Regions from separate parts of the Homo sapiens genome. Here region 1 is linked to region 2. Evidence: promoter capture Hi-C in human tissues and cell types (Jung and others, 2019). All regions are on one chromosome and are shown on one strand. Each heading gives the region's core, a stretch centred on a gene start or on the middle of the fragment in contact. The rest is flanking DNA. Distances are from core to core; before and after follow the strand shown.

What was found. The method cuts DNA at HindIII sites, captures the fragments that hold promoters and counts their contacts. A contact is called where the count stands out against the background at its distance.
Region 1: a contact is called between a fragment that was not itself captured here and the fragment with the promoter of TGM6 in region 2, in 2 of the 25 tissues and cell types used here (neural progenitor cells and thymus).

The regions. Positions count from the first base shown.
Region 1 is chr20:2,281,545-2,285,657 of GRCh38, reverse strand. No RefSeq gene overlaps it. Among named protein-coding and RNA genes, the nearest start is that of TGM3, 12 kb to the left of the region's middle. The HindIII fragment of the contact is 5,447 bases long and covers 1-4,113 here.
Region 2 is chr20:2,379,641-2,383,622 of GRCh38, reverse strand. TGM6 (transglutaminase 6) reads right to left here and starts at 2,722. Exons shown (of 13, transcript NM_198994.3): 1 at 2,648-2,722. The coding sequence starts at 2,654. The HindIII fragment of the contact is 30,296 bases long and covers 1-3,982 here.

The DNA of each region.
Region 1 (4,113 bases), core at 1,215-3,714, 98 kb after region 2:
TTGGCTGTTGGCTGGATTTAATTAGAAATTTTGGTCTTCACCAGATGGATCCAACACTAAAGGCTCTTTAAGTCTCAAGGACAAAGTTGGAATTTCCCATGCAGTAAATTTAGATCTTCGTTTCATGCATCCATAAAGACAGCTATAAATTTCAGAGGCCCAAGGCTTGTCCCAGCATAACATGGGCCTTCACAACAAGTAAATAAATAACTTGAAACTGGAAGGGTGACTTCAAATGATGCTACCACCCTCTCTACTGGAAGACAGTGTGGACAACAACAGGAAGTGGAGGATGTCTGGGAAACGTCTCTGGTCACCTCTTTGGAAAGCAAAAGTCTGGAAAGTCCAAACAAGGTTTGCTCTTAGAGATATGGCAATATTTATAGGACTTGTACACAGGAAACATGAAAGGAAATGGAATTATTCCTTTATGTTCCTTACAATATGAGACCAGATAAGTTCCTAGCCACTCTCTACTTTCAACAGGCCCCAAACACTTGGTCTCTCCTGACCTTCTACACTGTAGCAAAGTGGCTGGGAGGACTTCCTCTGGCTCAGAGTCTCTGTCCTGAATGTTTACATCTTGGTAAAACTGTGGCAGCAAGTTAGATACCTGAGAACTTAGAGTCTAGCTAGACTAGATTCTTGGGTCTGTCACTAACTCATTTGGAGACCTTGGGAAATGGTTTGGCCTAAGTCAGTAGGTCTCAGCCTTTGCTTCAACCTTCACATTATCTCATGTTCTATATGTGCTCACCAGAAACACCTCTCAGGCCAGGTGCTGTGGCTCATGCCTGTAATCCTAATGCTTTGGGAGGCCTAGGTGGGAGCATCACTTGAGCCCAGGAGTTTGAGGCTGCAGTGAGCTATGATCATGCCACTGTACTCCAGCTTGGGCAACAGAATGAGACCCTGTCTCTAAAACAAAACAAAACAAAAACATCTTTCATTAGACATAGATTGTCAATGAGTGTGGCCACCTCCACGCATTTTCTGATTCTCACTGAGATCTCTGAACAAGATGATCTTAGTGTGTTTCACGCATCCCCCTCCTTGCACTTTTAAGTCTTAGGATTCTAGATATAAATTCTCATCAAAAGAGCTTTGAAAAAAACAGGCTCCTACACAATTATGCTTGCATATACTTAGAAAGAAAGATTTAAAAGAAGATGTTAACAGTTGTTTTCTCTGGGAAAGGAACCTAGGGGCCTAATTGTTAAGGAAAAAAAGAGACTGACTCTTCACCGTATACCCTTTATTTTATTTTATTTTATTTTATTTTATTTTATTTTATTTTATTTATTTTATTTTATTTTATTTTATTTTATTTTATTTTATTTTATTTTATTTTATTTTATTTTATTTTTATTTATTTATTTTTTTTGGGAGAGGGCCTGGCTCTGTCACACAGGTTGGAGTGCAGTGGTATGATCTCAGCTCACTGGAATCTGCACCTCCTGGGCTTAAGCAATCCTCCCACCTCAGGCTCCCAAGTAGCTGGGACTACAAGTGCATGACATCATGCCTGGCTAACCTAGTAGAGAAAAATAAAATAAAATTAAAAAATATTTTTAAAAAGAAAAAACAAAAAGGGAACCTCTGGAAGAAGAGTATGGCTGAAGTGGACCTACAGGCTAAGTAGGTAGACAACTAAGAAGGTCTGTTTCCTCCCTTATTCCCTCCCTTCCTTTTCTAAACCTCTTTACTTTCTTGGAAATGACCTTCAGTGCCTGCCACGAACCAGCCACCATGATTGAGTGGGTATTAATTCAGTTTCCTGTACTTTAGTCATTCACACAGCACCTTCTTGAGTTTTGCCACATCTGCCCACCAGCTACATCATAATTAACTTAAAGTTTTTCTTTAAATTAACTCCCTTTCCCTTTTTTCTTTAACTTACCAGCTGGGCGCGGTAGCTCACACCTGTAATCCTAGCACTTTGGGAGGTTGAGGCGGGTGGATCACCTGGGGTCAGGAGTTCGAGACTAGCTGGGCCAACATGGCAAAACCCCATCTTTACTAAAAATACAAAAATTAGCTAGGCGAGGTGGTGCGTGCCTATAATCCCAGCTACTTGGGAGGCTGAGGCAGGAGAATCGCTTGAATCCAGGGAATGGAGGTTGCAATGAGCCAAGATTGCCCCACTTTACTCCAGCCTGGGTGAAAGAGCGAAACTCTGTCTCAAAATAAATAAATACATTAATTAATTAACTTACCTAACTACTTTAGTCTTGCACTAATCAATAACATTCATAAAATGATTTGGTTTGTCAATTATTTTTCTAATGCCTATGAAACTAAACATTGACTATTAGAATTTAAAATGTCTGCCCCCGTGTCTGGGTTACACGTGCCACACTCTGGAATTCACTAGCAATAACTCATTCGGTCCCTGCAACTACTCTCTGAGTAGAAATTATCTTCCTCATCCTACACATGAGAAAACTAAGCTTCAGAGGGGTTAAGTAACTTGCCCAAGGAGACAAAACTAGCAAAGGCAGAGTAAGACTTAAAACCACTCTTGTCTCCAAGGCCTGCATTCTTTCTTTTTATTTTCTTTTTAATTTTTTTTTAGACAGAGTCTCACTCTGGTGCGCAGGATAGATTGCAGAGGTGCGATCTCGGCTCACTGCAACCTCTGCCTCCCAGGTTCAAGTGATTCTCCTGCCTCAGCCTCCGGAGTAGCTGGGATTACTGGCGCCCGCCACCACCCCAGCTAATTTTTTTGTATTTTTAGTAGAGACAGGGTTTCACCATGTTGGCCAGGCTGGTCTCGAACTCCTGGCCTCAAGTGATATACTCACCTCAGCTTCCCAAAGTGCTGGGACTACAGGCGTGAGCCACCACACCCCGCCCCTGCATTCTTTCTTCTAATATTGCCCTAAAGTGGAAGGAAGGGAAAAAAAAGAGTAATACAAAAATGAGACCCGTCCACAGAGGTTCAATGCATTTGATCCAGCCCACTGGTTCAGGCCCTGCAACAAGCCAAGCCCCAGCATCCATTCTTGCCTCCCTGGCAGATGTCTTGCTTCCTCCACCACAAACAAGTCCTGTGTGGTGCGAACTTGGAGACTGATTTGTGTTTGCCAACTGGTGGCTTTGCTCTGAGCGCAGATCCCCCCGCCATGGCTCTGCTGGTGCCAAGGCTCCTAGAAGCCTTTCTAAGCCTTGCCCTTTCAGGTTCCTAACCCTGCCTTCTCACTCCACCATCCGTCAGATCCCACCTTTGTGCTACCTTCCTGCCCAGGCAGACAGGCCAAGGCTTTGCCCTCATGTTGGGGCTTGCTATTTTAGGTAGTGGATTTATGAGAGAGGGCGTTCATTCTGTAAAGTTTGAAAGCATCCTTTTATCTTCTCTTGTTACTAACACCATCTAGTTGCCTAGCACAGAGAAGACACAGAGAAGACACATTCGCTTGGCAAAGGAGGGAAGGATTCTCTGCCACCTCCCCCTTGGCCCCTTCACCTTTGGTCCCCCTACCAAAGAGGAGGCTGGGGTGTGGTCCTTCCGTGAAACTGAGAGAGCACGATTAGGGCCATGTGAGGACCTGGACTCAGTCTGCCTCCCTGCTGCATTCTCTGCCTGCCAACAGTCCACTCTGAGTTTGGTGGTAGAGGTAAGGGGTGGAAGTAGAGCGTTAGACGTAATAGAGCAAAGGAACTAATACTTATTATGGGCCTACTGTTTGTCAAACACTGCTGTTGATCCTTCATATCTGTTACCTCATCTAATACTCTCAACAACCTACAACCATAACAAACAGGTATTATTAGGCTCATCTTACAGATTAGTAAATCCAACTCTGGAAATCTAAATCAATTACTTAAGGCCACACAGCTACTAAAAGGCAGAGCCAAGATTTAAGCCCAGTACTGATTCCAAAGTCCACACTGTTTTCACTATACCAGGCCACCTCCTCTATGGATGAAACATAGTTACAAGGGCACTTAGAAATTATTTAGTTCAAAGGCCAGGTGTGGTGGCTCATGCCTGTAATTCCAGCACTTTGGGAGGCCGAGGTGGGCGGATCACTTGAGGTCAGGAGTTTGAGACCAGCCTAGCCAACACAGTGAAACCGTGTCTCTACTAAAAATACAAAAATTAGCCGGGCA
Region 2 (3,982 bases), core at 1,473-3,972:
GAGGTTCAGAGAGGAGAAGGGACTTTTCTGAGTGTCAGCATGTCATTTTCCCTGCTCAAGCACCATGGAATCTACAGCCATCTTGTTGGCATTGAAGGTCCTTGACAGTCAGGCCCTGCCCATCACTTCTGGCCCTCTGACCTCCTCCCCAACTAATTTGCTCACCAGCTGGCCCCAGAGCTCCACCTAAGAAAGGGAAGGGTCCATGTGCAGAACATTGCCTCCTGCCGACTTAGCTCTCCACCCATCCCCACCCCCAAGCCTAGCTCATCCATCTTCCTCCTCCTGCCCTTGGGTGATACCAGAGAGCTGAATGATACAATCCTCCCCAATTCTTTGTCTCAGGCCAGTGGGCTTGAGCCCTGGAAACTCTGTTGAAGCCAGTGGCATCTTCCAGACTCTGGACTAAGCATAATTGGTTTTTAATGGGCCCCATTATAATCCTATGCTTAGTACGCATCATGAGCACCTGAACTCCATGACTAAATGATTTATCGAGAGTTGCCTGGGGCCTTTCTGGGGCCACTGCCCCATCTCTCTTTCCTTCCTGGTCTTGTTGGAAGCTGCTGGCCTCTCTTTCACCAGGAGGCAGTGACTCATCAACTCCAACCCAATGTCCCAGCCAGAGCCAGCCTCACATACAGTATTCCACTCAATTCTTGGAATCTCTGAGCTGAAAGATGATTGTAATTTAATCATGGCAAAAGGGTCTCACCTCCTTTGCCAACACTGATCAACTGGTACTTAAAGAGCTGGGTTGAGCATTCTGGGGCCACATCCAGGCTCCAGAGGGAAGAGCTCTGGGGTCAACTAGGGATGTCCACCATGGATGGAGTGAGGGAGGGGGGATAGAAGGAGCTCCAGGAAGATGAATACACTTTCCATCTAGGATCTGATGTCTCAGTCATTCAGGCACAGAGTGTGTGGTAGGCAGGACCTACTGCTCTGAGGAACAGATCCTCCCAAGAAGCCAAGAGGACCCAGAAGACCCAGGAATTGAATCCAATCCAACACATAGTCCATTTACATAGGCATGACAACTCCAATGCTGACATTTCACAGACGGAGAAACAGAGCTTCAGAGAGAGGAACCCAGCAAGTTAGTTACAGACCTGACAATGGGCATCATCATCAACTTTTTTCCTTCCTCAGAAACTAACCTTCGCACTGTCAAGTTTAAGTCTGATAGGTTATCAAAGGCCCAGGGAAGAGGGATCATCTAGGTGAACTTTGAGAAGCAGATCTTGGAGGAACAAAGGCAATCCCCTCTGCACCAGGGCCATCAGGGAGGCAACCCCAGCTCTGGAAACAGGCAGTCTGGGCTGTGAGCTGGTGTTGGCAAGGCCTGGTCTTCAGAACAGACCTATCCTAGGAGCCTGAAGGGCCCAACACGTCCAGCAATGCTGTTAACTGCCAGGAGGAAATATGAAGAGGAAGCTAGACTATGATGAGGAAATTCAAATATCTGCCTTTGAAAGTTAAAAAAATATTTGATTCATAAAACTGTCACATAATGCTGAACAATTAAAACTGGCAGACACAGACTCAGAAACACCCCTTGAATACCTGTGAGTGTAGGACCCCTGGTTCTGCTGACTTGCTCATTACCGGGCCCCAGCATCTAAGACAAGTTCTTGCAGAGGGAGTTTGCTGCTCACTATATTGAGGTCGTGGGGGACACATTATCTTACTTTCTTTTTTTTTTGAGACAGGGTCTCACTCTGTTGCCCAGCCTGCAGTGCAGTGGCACCATCTTGGCTCACTGTAGCCTCTACCTCCTAAGCTCAAGCGATCCTCTCACCTCAGCCTCCCAAGTAGCTGGGACTTTGGGTGTTCCCCACCATGCCTAGCTAATTGTTGTATTTTTTTGTAGAGACGGGGTTTTGCCACATTGCCCAGGCTGGTCTCAAACTCCTGAGCTCAAGAATTCCACCCCCTTCAGCCTCCCAAAATGCTGGGATTAGAGGCGTGAGCCACTGTGCCCGACCCACATTTTCTGAGTCTACTGTTTACAAGTCCCCACTTGAGATGTGTGGTGGGAGAACAGCACACGTGGTCTCACCAACTCCTCACAGCAAGGCTGTGAGATAATTTGCATTATAATCCCCATTACACAGATCAGAAAACAGAGGTACCAAGGGCAAATTTTCTTGCTCAAGGTCATATAGCTGTTTTCACTTGAGCCAGAGCTGCTCTTGCCCTCAAGTGCTTGGGGTGGGAATCAGGCGAGGATGCAGCCGGTGGGGGCCTCTCACTCCTTCCCACGCAGGCCACAATTCCCAACTATGCCCAGAAACGTCTCTGGATCCATGGAATGTGCATGGGGTGCAAGGAGATTTTCTTTTTTCTGCCCCTGCCTTCCTGTGCCTGCCTCCTTCAGTCCTCCGAGGCACAGGGGTGAGACCTGGCCCCAGCCCAGGAGACAGCGCCTGAGCCAGCCTGGGCCATGGCCTTGCTGGGTGGCTTAAAGCTGGCTTTTTCATCCTGGGCCTCATGAATCCACACGAAGAGTTCATGTGTTCATGGTGGACTATCCAGCTGTAAAATCCTAACAATCGATGATCAAACGTCATCCCACAGACCCGTGTTTCTTGAAGCCCCCCTCATGAGCCCTGGTGTCCCAAGGCCCCAGGCTCTGCCCACTTACCTGCCATGTGAAGGCCAGCTGGACTCCTCTGTTCCTCCACACAGCAGTGTGTGCACCGTCAGGACAGTGTGGCGCGTCACAGCAGCCAGCCAGACCAATTTTAACAAGGAAAACCTTGGGACACTCCTAGGCAGGAAAGTCAGAATTCAAAAGAGGAGGCGTGGCCCTCCACCCTAGCAGCGACACCCACGAGACACAAAATCATCCTGTAATTGCACCTAGAGGGGTTCACTGTGGGAGTGGCTCCTGCCAAGAGACCTTGGAAACACGGAGTTGCGAATGGGACTGTGGAGAAACTGAGGCTCAGAAAGGTCACAAGCCTGGCAAGAAAAAGAACGGGGAAAGAGAGAAGACTGAGGGAACTCGGATTTATGGTTGGCCATTCTTAGCCCTCACAACAACCCTCAAATGAGAAAAAACAGGCTCAGCGCCAGGACCCCGAAGTACATGGTTGCACGCTGCAGTGCCGGGTCAGTCTGTGGCTCCCTCTCCCCTCCTGGGTGAGAGCAGAAGACTCCTGGGCCCACAGCTCCACTCTGTTCTGCAGGCATCTAAAGAGGCAGAGGTCCATGATCCTCCTTCAGGGCCACTAGACTTCCTTGGTGGACACTAGACTCTTGAGAGGAGGTAGATAAGAAAAAGGGGAGAGCTGGTTCTGACTCAGAAGCTAGGCCCATCTGCCCTGACTTTGTGAGTGGCCTCCAGCCAGGAGCTTAGAGGCCTGGTGGCCATGGGTGTCCCGTGACCTTGGACAAGACCTCTCCCCTCCTGGAACCCTGGTGTTTCTACCTACAAACTAAAGGGATTGGACTCAATTATTCTTCAGGGCCATTCCAGCTCAAAGTCTAAGATTCTGGGCTTGAAGGTGCTGGAATTCAAGGCATCTGAGGTCTTTTGTTAATGAAATAGAGGGGATTTTATTTTCATGGAAGCCGGTGGGGTAGGTTTCTTTTTGCCGGAGAAATGCTTTGATGGATGACTTGGGGCTATCGAAGGCTGGATGTGGCCTGGGCCAGTGAGGAAGGGGAAGTGGGAGGGGGTAGAATCGAGGGAAAGAGACAAGGAAGGGTAAGGAGACAACCGTGTGCTGAGCACAGTAGGATGAGGCCGCTCCCTGGGATCACCCCAACATTCAGGAAACTGCATAAAAACCCCAAAGTGTTTGATGTGGTTGGATTTCTTACAGAAAGTGGCAAAGAGGCTGAGTTCTGCTTCCTGGTTTCACGCAGATCAAGCGTCTTTAATGAGCTGTCTGCAGACCCACATAGCCTTATAATTACTGACATCTGGCAGCAGCCCAGGGCAGCTCCTTCCTCAACACCCTGCAGGCTGCTG